3 separate regions of the Homo sapiens genome follow, and regions 2 and 3 are each linked to region 1. Evidence: promoter capture Hi-C in 16 types of primary human blood cells and fetal thymus (Javierre and others, 2016). All regions are on one chromosome and are shown on one strand. The core of a region is centred on a gene start or on the middle of the fragment in contact, and the rest is flanking DNA. Distances in the headings are between cores, read along the strand shown. Region 1 holds the start of GABPA (GA binding protein transcription factor subunit alpha). Region 2 overlaps BTG3 (BTG anti-proliferation factor 3). Region 3 holds the start of C21orf91 (chromosome 21 open reading frame 91).

Evidence for each region. Contacts are between HindIII fragments. The CHiCAGO score rates a contact against its expected background, and 5 or more counts as called.
Region 2: a fragment that was not itself captured here is called in contact with the fragment with the promoter of GABPA in region 1 in 1 of 17 cell types (total CD4 T cells); the score reaches 5.1 in total CD4 T cells.
Region 3: a contact is called between the fragment with the promoter of C21orf91 here and the fragment with the promoter of GABPA in region 1, in 7 of 17 cell types (total B cells, non-activated CD4 T cells, fetal thymus and 4 more). The highest score is 22.6, in total B cells.

Annotation. Positions count from the first base shown.
Region 1 is chr21:25,732,776-25,736,807 of GRCh38, reverse strand. It overlaps GABPA (GA binding protein transcription factor subunit alpha), which reads right to left and starts at 1,836. Exons shown (of 10, transcript NM_002040.4): 1 at 1,230-1,836. It overlaps ATP5PF (ATP synthase peripheral stalk subunit F6), which reads left to right and starts at 1,904. Exons shown (of 4, transcript NM_001003703.2): 1 at 1,904-1,955. RefSeq lists silencers at 843-1,052, 1,113-1,252, 2,193-2,292 and enhancers at 1,753-1,872, 1,893-2,002, 1,429-2,084, 2,403-2,482, 3,775-4,032. The HindIII fragment of the contact is 6,464 bases long and covers 318-4,032 here.
Region 2 is chr21:17,600,400-17,604,431 of GRCh38, reverse strand. All of the region lies in intron 3 of BTG3 (BTG anti-proliferation factor 3), which reads left to right. It also overlaps a transcript of CXADR not described here. Among named protein-coding and RNA genes, the nearest start is that of BTG3-AS1, 9.3 kb to the left of the region's middle. The HindIII fragment of the contact is 4,212 bases long and covers 1-4,029 here.
Region 3 is chr21:17,817,128-17,821,159 of GRCh38, reverse strand. It overlaps C21orf91 (chromosome 21 open reading frame 91), which reads left to right and starts at 1,804. Exons shown (of 5, transcript NM_001100420.2): 1 at 1,804-1,857; 2 at 2,835-2,968. The coding sequence starts at 2,842. The region is part of intron 2 of LOC124900465 (a long non-coding RNA gene); the gene reads right to left. RefSeq lists an enhancer at 1,110-1,159 and a silencer at 1,410-2,189. The HindIII fragment of the contact is 2,618 bases long and covers 1-2,357 here.

The sequences.
Region 1 (4,032 bases), core at 587-3,086:
AAAGAGAAAGCACATACAGTGAAAGATTAACAGTTGGGACCCTCAGGTGAAGGGTATCTGCGTGTTCACTGCATGATTTTTTCCCCAATTCTTCTGTAGGTTTGGAGTTTTATATATAAAGAGTTGAGGGAAGGCTAAAGTCAACAGTTTTAATTTAGTACTCGGTCTGATGATTTGCTTCAACCTAACATCTAGCTCATGATTTAATTACTTCATTACTATACATGCCTCATGACAGATGCTCTTGTATACACAATTCAGGTAAAATTGACTTGAAGTCCACTCAGCGTCACTGTATGTCTAAAAATAAAGAAGCTTGGAAAGCCTGGATGGAACCCTGAGAGACAGGCTAGTCCCTCAAGCAGTTGCTAAAGAGTTGAGCGGTTTCTTCTGAAGTTCAAGATAACACTACCGAAGAATGTTATCACCGCCTCGTTCTACAATTCGCTCAAGTGAATCCTGCTAAATCTTTGCTCTTCTCACGAGTCAGACCTACTGCTATTAGTGGAAACTACTTATGAAATGAATTTTATTTCTAAATTTCTAATCATCTTGCAATGCAATATTAGGCATTGTCCTCTCGGTCCGCTAACCTGATCAAACTGGGGTCCCTAAATCCAAACACGCACATACAGCGTGTCTTCTAGTACACAAAAAAATTTCCAAGTAGACAACCCATTGTTATCTCCTTGGTTTACTTCCTTGCTTAAAAACAAAAAAACAAACCCAGATGGCTACCATATACGCTGATAAATGATTCTGGTGTGTGTTGTTCTATAAAGAGAGCGGATTTGAAATGAGTGAATCGCTGAGTCCCGCGATGAGACAGGGTCTGCATTTTGCTCTTAAAATCTCGGGGGCGTCAGGACCACATCCCAGCTGAGCAGGCTGAGACTGCTGAGGAGTGCGGACGGGCGAGGAGGGGACGCGGAAAGGAGGGAGCGGCGACAGGCGACCCGTCCGGCACGGGTCCCGGCGGTGCCCGGTCCCCCCGGGCTCCAGGCCGCTCGCCCCCCGCCCCTCCCCTTCGCTCCCCGCACAGCTCTCCCGCCCCTCCCCACCCGGCTCCCTCAAGTCTCCACGAACGGAAATGGGAGTCACAGCGCCGGGGACCAGCGGAAACAAAACACAGAGGCGGCCGCGGGGGGGCCCTTGTGGGGGAAAAGGCCCCGGAACGAGGCCGGCCCGCGAGGGCCCGCGCTCCCCTCCTCCCCGGCGGCCGCACTCACCCACTCCGGAATCGGCCCTGTCGCCCCCGCCCGCACTCCAGAGCCGGCTGAGAACGGCAGCGGCGAGGGCTCCACGTGCAGCGTCTCTCCGGGTAAGACCTGCAGCTCCCGCGACTAGAAGTGTGAGGTCCCAGGGCCCTTCCCGCGGAATCGGCGCTGAGAAGCCCCAACCCCCCTCCCGCCTCCCAGGCACCTTCGGGTCCAGGACTACAACTCCCGGCAGGGTGCGCAAAACGACCGCCCAAGGCAACGGAGGCTCACGAGGTACAAGGAAGCACAACGCCCCAATCCGCTTTGTTTTACACAGTCTCACTTTCCCTGCACCTTTATACACTTCGATAACCCTAACGAACAGGACGCTGACTCGGAGGGGAGCTTGAACTAGGGGAAAGGCCACTCAAAGAGCGCATGCGTACAGAGCAAGGTTTCAAGGAGGGGAAAAAGAACGGGTCAAATTAGGCGAAGAAAAGATGGCGGAGGCTGTGCCAGGGGACCCGGAAGCACTTACCCTCCACTTCCTCCTCCTGTTTGGCTTCTGTCTCACCTAGACCCGTCCGGTCGCAGACTGTCTCCGAGACGCTTCCTGTCCGGTGAGCGTCGACCGACTGAAACGGCGGCCCATAATGCATTGCGATGGCGGGTAGGCGTGTGGGGGCGGAGCCAGGGCCGGAAGTAGAGCGGAGGTGGTGGCGGCGGAGGCTTTGGCAGCTCGGGACTGAGTGCAAGGTGACTGGGAGGGTAGCTAGATCAGCGTGGCCTTTTGGGACTCCAGTTCTGGGTTTTTTCACGAGGCCTGGGCTGCCTCTCACCTTTACTAGGAGGAGAGAGCAGCTCTGTGTCCTGGGGACCTTCACGGCCTGGCCCGGGGTCACAGCTGACCTCTACGTTTGTAGACCTTGGAGTTTGCCGTAGACCCAGAAATAAGATCGATACCCTCTCTGAGGGCAAATCGGGGCGGCGCGGGGGGCAGGGAGGCCCGGGGGTCTCGGGCCCGCAGCCTGGCTGGGGCAACCCAAGGTCAGGCGCGCGGGAGAGATTTTCGGCCAGGCCTACCCGCCCCGGGCGCACGGGAGCGTCTAGGCTACTTAGGCAGAACGTGTACCATTAAGAGGGAAAAAATTAGTCATAATATTGAAAGTTTGCATCCCACCTAAAAACGATGGTGCTAACACTTCATTAGGCGACTTTATGGATTGTTCATAGGAATATGCACTGAAGAGGCAGCGAACCTACTAACCTTTGGCCGGTCAGTCATCACTATAAATAGAACCATGCTCCCACCCAGAACAAGGCCTCTGCTCAGACTAGTGTTTTCTTACTGTTGCCTTCCCCAGTCTTTCTGATCATGTCAGACGCTATCATATGCTCTCGTGGCACCCGATGGTACTGGAATAGAGAATTTATGTCAGGTGGTATTTCACAGCTATTTGTGTAATGACTATCTTCTGCGTTTTAGTGGACAATATGCATTCACTAATCAGTGAAAAAAAATGAAAGGGATTAAAGGAGAAGGAACAAGTTTTGATATGGGATTATGTGTTCGTTTTTTGGATGAGTTCGTAGGACTTATAAGGGAGATGAGAACTGTTGAATGCTGTGGATAGATTTGGGGCTCAGGATGAATACTAAAATTAGAAATGCGATTGGGGAATCATAGGCACTTACATGGTGGATAATTGAAACAATGAAAGTGGATTTTACCCGTGTTGCAGAAGGAGTAACATCTATGCAGTCAGACTTAGAGCAAATTAACTGTGAGAATACGTGCAGCTTAATCTTTCTTAGATACAGTTTTATCATCTGTAAAGCAGGGATAAGAACACTTTAACTCTTTGAGAGTATTGCTGTAAGGGTACAAGGAAAGGATATATATGGAAGTACTTTGCACAGTATCTAGGGCTAAGCAAATGTCGGGTGAACCTATTGCTGAATGTTAAGCATGTCCTTAGTTTGCCAGAAGGGAAAGTGGCATTGAATTGCACAATTTTTTTTTTTGCATATATGTGTTAAGTTAGATTTTGCTGTGTAACTTTGACCAGATACTTTTTTTTTGAGACAGAGTCTCGCTCTGTCGCCCAGGCTGGATTGCAGTGGCACGATCTCTGCTCACTCCAAGCTCCACTTTCCAGGTTTACGCCCTTCTGCCTCAGCCTCCGGAGTAGCTGGGACTACAGGTGCCCGCCACCACGCCTGGCTAATTTTTTGTATTTTTCAGTAGAGACCGGGTTTCACCGTGTTAGCCAGGATGGTCTCGATCTCCTGACCTCGTGATCTGCCCGCCTCGGCCTCCCAAAGTGCTGGGATTACAAGCGTGAGCCACCGCGCCCGACCACTTTGACCAGATACTTCTAATCCTCAGTTTCTGTGTGTTTAAACATAGGAATGATAATAAGTGGCACATGACCTTGTGAGGTCATTTGTTGTTTGCTTGTAGCCTTTTCTCAAGTATTTTTCCCTGATGGGGTATAAAAGTGATATGTTATGAATTCTTTAATTTCTTCAAACAGTTTGCTTTCATTCTGTCAGGTGAAGCATATTTTGTTGATTGCATTGATAGTAGGATTTCTTTTTTTTTTTTTTTTTTTTTTTTTTTGAGACAGAGTTTCACTCTTGTTGCCCAGGGTGGAGGAGTGCAGTGGCGCGATCTCGGCTCACCGCAACCTCCGCCTCCTGGGTTCAAGGAATCTCCTGCCTCAGCCTCCTGAGTAGCTGGGATTACAGGCATGTGCCACCACTCCCGGCTAATTTTGTATTTTTGGTAGAGACGGGGTTTCTCCATGTTGGTCAGGCTGATCTTGAATCC
Region 2 (4,032 bases), core at 674-3,173, 8.1 Mb after region 1:
CTCTTGTTGCCCAGGCTGGAGCGCAATGGTGCATTCTTGGCTGTCTGCAACCTCTGCCTGCCGGGTTCAAGTGATTCTCCTGCCTCAGCCTCCTGAGTAGCTGGAATTACAGGCGCCCACCACTGTGCCCGGCTAATTTTTTTTTATATTTGTAGTAGAGATGGGGTTTCACCATGTTGGCCAGACTGCTCTCAAACTCCTGACCTCGTGATCCGCCCGCCTTGGCCTCCCAAAGCGCTGGATTACAGGCGTGAGCCACTGCGCCCGGCCTCCTCCTTTTTGATTATGTAAGTGACTGAGTGATACTTCGTGGTTTTATTTTTATAATGGAAGTTATTTTTCACATCTCCTAATGAATAGAGTTGTGAAAGATCAGTGCTAGGTATGAAATCTTTTTGAACTCCACTTGCTCAAAAACCATTATTTGTGGACCAGGCACTCTCAGTTGTAGGGTTTTCAAAAACGAAAGCAACATTCTGCTTTTAGGTAATTCAGTTTGAAATTGAGAAGAAAAGTAAGCAAATTACATTGTTATCTGATTTATGTTAGAAATGTGTACAAAATGCAGTGGTAGGTTGCACAAAGTAGAAAGTTACTGCATCTGGTGAGGAGTCAGGAGACTACTGAGTAGGTGATACTTGAGCTGGGAGGTGAAGGATGAGCCATGGTTGACCAGGTGACAAGGTGGGAAGGATGTTCTAACTAGCAGGAAGAAGATGAACAGAGGCATGGAATTCCTGCAAGAATTTTCCTGTGGCTCTGCCTTTAGGATGTTTCTATTTGGTTTTGAGGTACAATTCACCTGACCACCTGGCCTCTTTATTGATTGTAGTAAAGTTGCTTTTTGAAGGAACCCTAACTATGTACTCCTAAGGTGGTCGCAGACTGACCTGATTCCAGCAATGAAGGTGGAGGTGAAGACAGGAGAGATGAATTACATGATTATTCTTCCATTAAATTTTGTCAGGACCACCGCTTGAGGTTACTACCTGATTTGCCAGTGGTTGGTGTAAGTTTATTGCTTTTGGAAACCAGATGTAGGTGGTAGAGGTTTGTGATAAACATTCTCCAATACTTCTTTCTCGGGTAGAAAAGGAGCAAGCTATCTCAAATTTAGGTCTGAGAAAATAAACATTTTTAGATTCTGGGACTAATTAAGGACCTGCTTTAGGCTAGTTTCAGACTTGGAAAACTTTGGCCACTGAACCTGTGCAGAAGACCTCCATTTATAAGAAATAGCTGTCAAAAAGCTACTATATTGAATTGTTTACTTTTTAATTTGACCTGCACTTAGATCCTAGTTGGCTCCTATTTAACACACAGTTAAGTTAGTTGTGTGGTTTCTTAACCCATGAAATGTGAGAAGCAGCATTTTAAAGAGGGTTGATGAGTCAGACGCTACCAAAAAATGTCATGTGGTCTGACATAGAGGCAAAAATGAAAAAGCTAAAAAATCAGCACGATTATGTTATCACACAATCAAATAGTTTACGTTCAATATAATGATCCTAAACCATCAGGGGAAAGTTTTTATGTCCAAGGATGTTTAACAAGTTACATAATTATATAAACATTTTGGACCTATGTATTTAAAATGCTTAAAATAAGTCTCAGTACCTGAACATAAAAACTTTAGTTATACGGACATTCTACTTCAGTAGACATTTCATTACTTGATGATGCCTGGTAGGAAAAAACTGCTACTTTGCTTTCATCTTATTAATCTTAGAAAACCTTTTCATTCAGTAGGCTTCTAATTTATATGTAAATTTGCCAAAAATTGGCTCTGATGTGATTTTTTTCACAGCTAATAGAAATCACCTGCGAGTGTCAGGTGTTCATTCAATAACAGAACCCCAAAAAGAAAGACGTATTAATCGTTTAGTAGAGGTGGTTGATATAAGTTAACAGAAGAAAAAGACATTGAGAAATATTTTTTCACCAAAACTGGAAACATAGATATTTTGAAAATTAAAGCTGATCTAGCAAGTATACAATTGATCAAATATCTGAGAATCTTTAAAAATAATAACTCATTGGTATACTAGAGACTAAGATTGTAAAAAAAAATTGAGATGCACTGAGAACATTCTTCATAGTCTTCACTTACTCTGATAGAATAAAATGCTGCAAGAGTACAAAGAGTGCCATATAGTTAGAAAGGTTATCACTTCGTGATACAGAATAGAAAATAAATCTTGCCTATGATGAGAAGTTCTGAGAACAGATGCCAGCTTATCTACTCAACATATTTTACAACTTTTTTTTTTTTTGGTGATTTCTGCCATCCTTTTTTTCCCCCAATAGAGTGTTAAATACTATTGATTGTTTCTAAATAACTAAATTAGCCTTGATGTTTTATCAGTGATCATTGAAAAATGGAAAGTTTAAAAGTTGTCCAGGTGTCTACTAATTCTCCTAAGATATCGACTGCACATTGTAATGTTATAGTAGTATAGTCAGCAGCTTCTCTTACCATGAAGAGAGAGCCTTCATACCAAAATAGTACAAAGGGAAAAATGCAGAACCAAACTAGGTGTCAAAGAAATCTGAGTTAATAATGCTGATCCTTCAATCATTAGATATTTGCCCTTGGTTGAGGTTTCTGTTTACAAAGGCAGGAATTTTTCTCAAATTTCTTGCCTTTCCATTTTTGAATTTTGATTCCATTAATGGGCAAAACTGAAGATAGGCCTAAGTCATTGTTATATTAGTGTCATTAACACATGAATTAACCCTTGATTGTCTTGAAATTTGTTGAGTCTTCCAACTGTGGAGGGGACATGGAGTAAATGTGTATTGCTAAAACCTTATGCTAAGTAAACTTGAAATTAGAGAACACAAATTTTATGTTGTGAGGAACTCAATTGTTTAGGAATTTATTTTTTGTTTGTTTTGTTTTGTTTTAGAGAGAGGGTCTTGCTGTGTTGTCCAGGCTGGAATGCGGTGGCATGATCATAGCTCACTATAATTGTGAACTCCTGGGCTCAAGCAATCTTCCTGCCTTGACCTTCCAAAGTACTAGAATTATAGATGTAAGCTACCATGTCCAGCTTCTGTTTAGGTATTTTATACTACGAAGAGTCACCAGCCGTAGATCAACCACTATCTAGCCAGCTCCAGCTTCCTCGTCCAGCATATAGGAAACTAAGGCCTAGGGAAATTAAGTGACTTGCCTCTGGTGACCAAGCTAGTCAGTGGCAGAGCCAGAATGAGAAACTAGTCTAATGCCCTTTCTACCATCCCGTAGCAACTTTTTTTTTTTTTTTGAGACGGAGTCTCACTCTGTCGCCCAGGCTGGAGTGCAGTGGTGCGATCTCAGCTCACTGCAACCTCTGCCTCCCAGGTTCAAGCAATTCTCCTGCCTCAGCCTCCCGAGTAGCTGGGATTACAGGCGCACACCACCATGCCCGGCTAATTTTTTGTATTTTTAGTAGAGACAGGGTTTCACCATGTTGGCCAGGCTGGCCTCGAACGCCTGACCTCATGATCCACCCGCCTTGGCCTCCCAAAGTGCTGGGATTACAGGCATGAGCCACCGCGCCCAGCCCCTGTAGCAACTTTTATGAGGTAAACTAAAAAAGAATACAAAAGCGAAGTTATGTACTATATTTAAGTAGTATTTATAGTTTCATTTGGCCTATAGGAATGGAAGACAGCATAGCTATCTGAAGAAATAGAACTCATCTATGTGTGATCTCTGAGACTGCTAGATTTCCACATACATTTTCTTTTCTGTTTTTTTAATTTTTTGTTCTTGTTTTTTTGTTTTTTTGAGAGACAGGGTCTCACCATGTTACCCAGACTGGTCTCAAATTCCTGGGCTCAAGCAGTCTGCCCACCTAGGCCTCCTGAAGTGCTGGAATTACAGGTGTAAGCCACTGCACCCAGCCTCATGTACATTTTCAAAGGCTTTATAGCAGTTAAGCCTTTTACTTTATAATAGATAACCATTCTGATTCAGAAATAATTTGAGACGAGTGCTATCTTGAAATGAATTAACTTCAGCTAACTATTGAATCAAAAGCTTGA
Region 3 (4,032 bases), core at 555-3,054, 7.9 Mb after region 1:
AAATACCATCGTGAATCTCAAAAACATGCTGCATGACAATAGCCAATCACAAATGAACACACACTGCTTAATTCTATGTATATGAATTCCTATAACAGACAAAACTAAAACACTTCGTCATATAAATTAGATCCCATGTTGAAGGAGCTTGACCAGAAAGGAACAGAAAGAAATGTCGGGGCTGTGGAAATGTTCTGTATCCTCACTGGGGTGGTGGTTACTCAAGTGTATGTATTTGCCAAAACTCATCAAATAATGCTTTTAAAATGGAAGCATTTTATTTCTGTAAATTATTCCTTGATTTTTTTTAAAAAGCCAACAACAAGAGAGAAGAGTTTTAAGAATAGCAAGTAAACAATGTGAAATGCCATAGGAAGGAAGACAATTCTGAGAAGTGAAAATAACTTGTTTCAATTTTTAAATTTTAGTGATTTTAGAACACTTTTATTGAATCACTTTAAAAGAGTCCTTTTTAAAAGAATGCTTTTTATTGAAAAGATGGGTAGAATCCAACATGCAAGGTATCTTAGTCGTAGTTACCTAGAATGAGAAATTCGAAGAGAAAAAGCACAGGCTTTTCATTTCAATTAGTGCATCTCAAACTTCGATGAACATAGGAATCTCCTGGCGGTCTTGTTAAAGTGCAAGTATTGATTTAGGAAATCTCGAGTGGGGCCTGAGATTCTACATTTCTAACAGGAAACCAAGTAATGTCAATGTTGTTTGTTCATCTACTACAATTTAGGTGGCAAGGACACAGATCGCTCCTGCGAGGCACAAATGCCATAACTGGAGTGCTAATTTGGCCCAGAAGTTTCCAAGATCTAGACAGTCCATTCCTAACCATCAGTTCAAGAATGCCTACATGTAGATTGACAGGCTAGCCCTCTTTCTATGTGAGTGCAACCAGAACACATACATATGATGCTGTAGAAAATAACATTGATCTTAGGTCAGTAGCCTTCGGTTCAAGTCCCAGCCTTTTTCTAACCAACTGTGATAACCTGGGTCAATTACTCGTAGGCTGCAACATGAGAGAACAGTTCCTGTTTCTCCTCTGTAGGTTACTGTGAGGACTACAATGGAAAATGTAAGTGAAAGTACTGCAAGAACCATACCCTAAAAAAAACAGAATAGCTTAAACAAAAGTCAAGCAAAGAATTTGAGAACCAAGCAGGACCTAAAAATAAGAGGTGGGGCTTCGGGATTTTTCCCGTGGGCGTTGAGGGATGTACCATATTGGGGGCAGGGGCGCCCCACAACAAATAATGTATTTGAAAAGATTCTGTATTTGAAATTATGCCTCTATCATGACACCTGAATATGAACTTTTCCTTCGTTAGATACTTCAACTGGCACTTAACTATAAGTTCAGTGACAGTATTCTGCTTCTTTCTCCTGAAGTCAAAGTGCCACCCACGCACCTCTCCCGTTCTGCCATCCACCCGCGGCTTTCCTACCCCCGCCGCCTGCGGCCCCCGCCCCGGGGCAGTAGTTTGCACTAGGCTGAAGGGAGAGGTGGAACGGATTCGTCTATCTACGCACCTCGAGGAGGGGTGTGTGAGGAGCTACGTTCCAGAGAACGGTAAGAAACTCCGGCCAGGAAACACGGGATCACAGGAGAACTCGAGGCGAAGGTGCGGCGTCGGTGCAGGAGCGGAGGGGCGGACCCACAGCAGCCCGGCGAGCGCGCAGGTGTGCCCGCGGCCGCGCCACCCTCCCCGCAGCCTTTACGGGATGGAGCCGGCGGGAGAGGGCGGGGCCAGGCGCGCGGCGGCCGCCTCTGCTGCGGCCGGAAACAATAGTGGAGGAACCCGAGCCGCACGGAACGGCGGTGGTGGCCCGCGGAGCCGGACGGTAAAGACCCCGCAGCCCTGCTCCCATCCCACCTGAGCCCCGACCCCCAGTCCCATCGTTCCGCCTCCTTCGAGTTCCGAGCCCCGTGGCCCCTCGCGCTGCTGCGCGCCAGGCGCCCCGACGGACAGACCGACGGAAAGACGGACTTGGGTCCGCGACTCCCTGGGGGCGGCCGCGCGCCCCCAACGCCGAAGGCCGGGCCAGGACCCGGCTCCCCGAGACGCTGAGGCTGGGCGGACCGGCCGCCGTGGCCCTCGGACGCTTTCTTCCCTCTGGGAGGAATCCCGGAGCGATGGGACGAGGCTCTCCCGCCCGCCGGGCTCCAGGATGCCGCGGCTCTCCCAGCTCCGGCTTGGGCCCCTCCGGCGGTGCCCGGCCGGTACCGTGAAGCCGCCGCTCGGCCTTCGGTGTAGTTGCCCCGGACACGGCGGGACGCCCTCCCCGGGTATTCGGTACCCACGTGCATTTTGCTGCCGCCGATCTCCGTTCGATGCGAAGCTTCGCAACTCCGAGTTCGCGAGGCGCATCTGAGGTTCCCCCAATGAAGTTAGCAAAGCAGTGTCCCGTGCAGGTCGTTTTTCCTGTTTCTCACAGCGTTAACTAGGTTGACAGAACCTGGTAGCTGAAAAGGCCTCGCTGCTAAGCCCTCTGATTATTCGAGGTTGGGGGACGAAGGAGGAGGACTAGAATGCCGGCAAATCTCTTTCCTTCAGGTGCCACTAACCCAATCAACTATAGGACAAAAAAGACACGGACATAGTGTCACCTATGGCCTGGCTTTAAGTTTTACTAGCTTTGTGTCTTTCCACAGGAAAAGTGCAATGTTGGAGTGCAAGTATGGCGATGCTTGTTTGATGGAGCTTTTGCTTTAAATGAGCTGAACAGCATCCTTATTTCCTAGAAGTTCCCAGTAAAGGGAACTACCCCAAAGGCAGGTTCATGAAATTGTGTAACTTTCCTTTTCTGTTTCTTAATAGGGGCACTATGAACGAAGAGGAGCAGTTTGTAAACATTGATTTGAATGATGACAACATTTGCAGTGTTTGTAAACTGGGAACAGACAAAGAAACACTCTCCTTCTGCCACATTTGTTTTGAGCTAAATATTGAGGGTAAGGACACAGTATAGTTTTGATCTTATGGAATGAATTTAACACAGCTGCTTTGTACTGATTGTAAGGTAAAACTAAAATGTCTTCAATGATTGGAAATTGTGCTAAGTATGAATAGTGTAGAGATTTGTTAAAGATAAGGTTTCTGGAAATGAAGGTGCAGTTAACAGAGTTACGAATTTAAGAGAAATCTTTTTTTTTTAAAGACCCCTGCAACAACCCCATTTTTCCTAATACAGAAATAAGTATGAGTGTTGACTGGGAAACGTGTTTTCTGGTTTGAGAGCTTATTGAATTGTCAGATTTTAACAGACCTGTGTGTTTTTTATATTAAGAAGTAACATAACAATTTTTTTATTCTTTCGAGCCTATTATGCAAGTATTTGAGTGAGATGAGCCCGAACTCTTTTCTCACCAGTATGATCTTATTATCTGGAAAAATACTTTAAAATTTTTAGATTAACCTCTTTTCAGTGATCACACACACTGTTGGTAATTTTTAAAACCTGAAAAGGTTTTTAAAATTTTTTTAATAATGTCCCTAAGATATATGAAGAAAAATTCTCCAAATCCAAAAAGAAACCCCAAAAAAAAGCCCTATTGGAAGGATTTATTTGGGTTGGTGCAGTTAGTGTTGTCATATTACAATTGATTTTTGGTTTAGATATTTATGAGTCATACTAAAAAAAACCTTAATATTCCTGCAAAAAAAATTTGGCCTGTAATTTGAGTTTTGAGTTGTAACATATCAGTAGAGAGACTTTATTAAACCTCTAGATTTTGGACAGTTTCAAAATAGTTCTTTCCTTTTTTCTGTATTATATATTTGAAATTTTTCATGATCTTTATTTTCTGTTTACTAAGTATGGGGTATGAAATGTTCTTATTGTTTAAAAAAATATAGTGGGGGATTATATACCTTGAAATTCCTGTTAGGACTTGTTATTCAGAAATTATTATGGTCACCAAACAGTATGTGATGGAAGATTATGGATTTCTTGTGGATTACATAGAATATCTATAACTTCAGCTTTAATAAATGTAGTGATTATAGCTAATTTCAA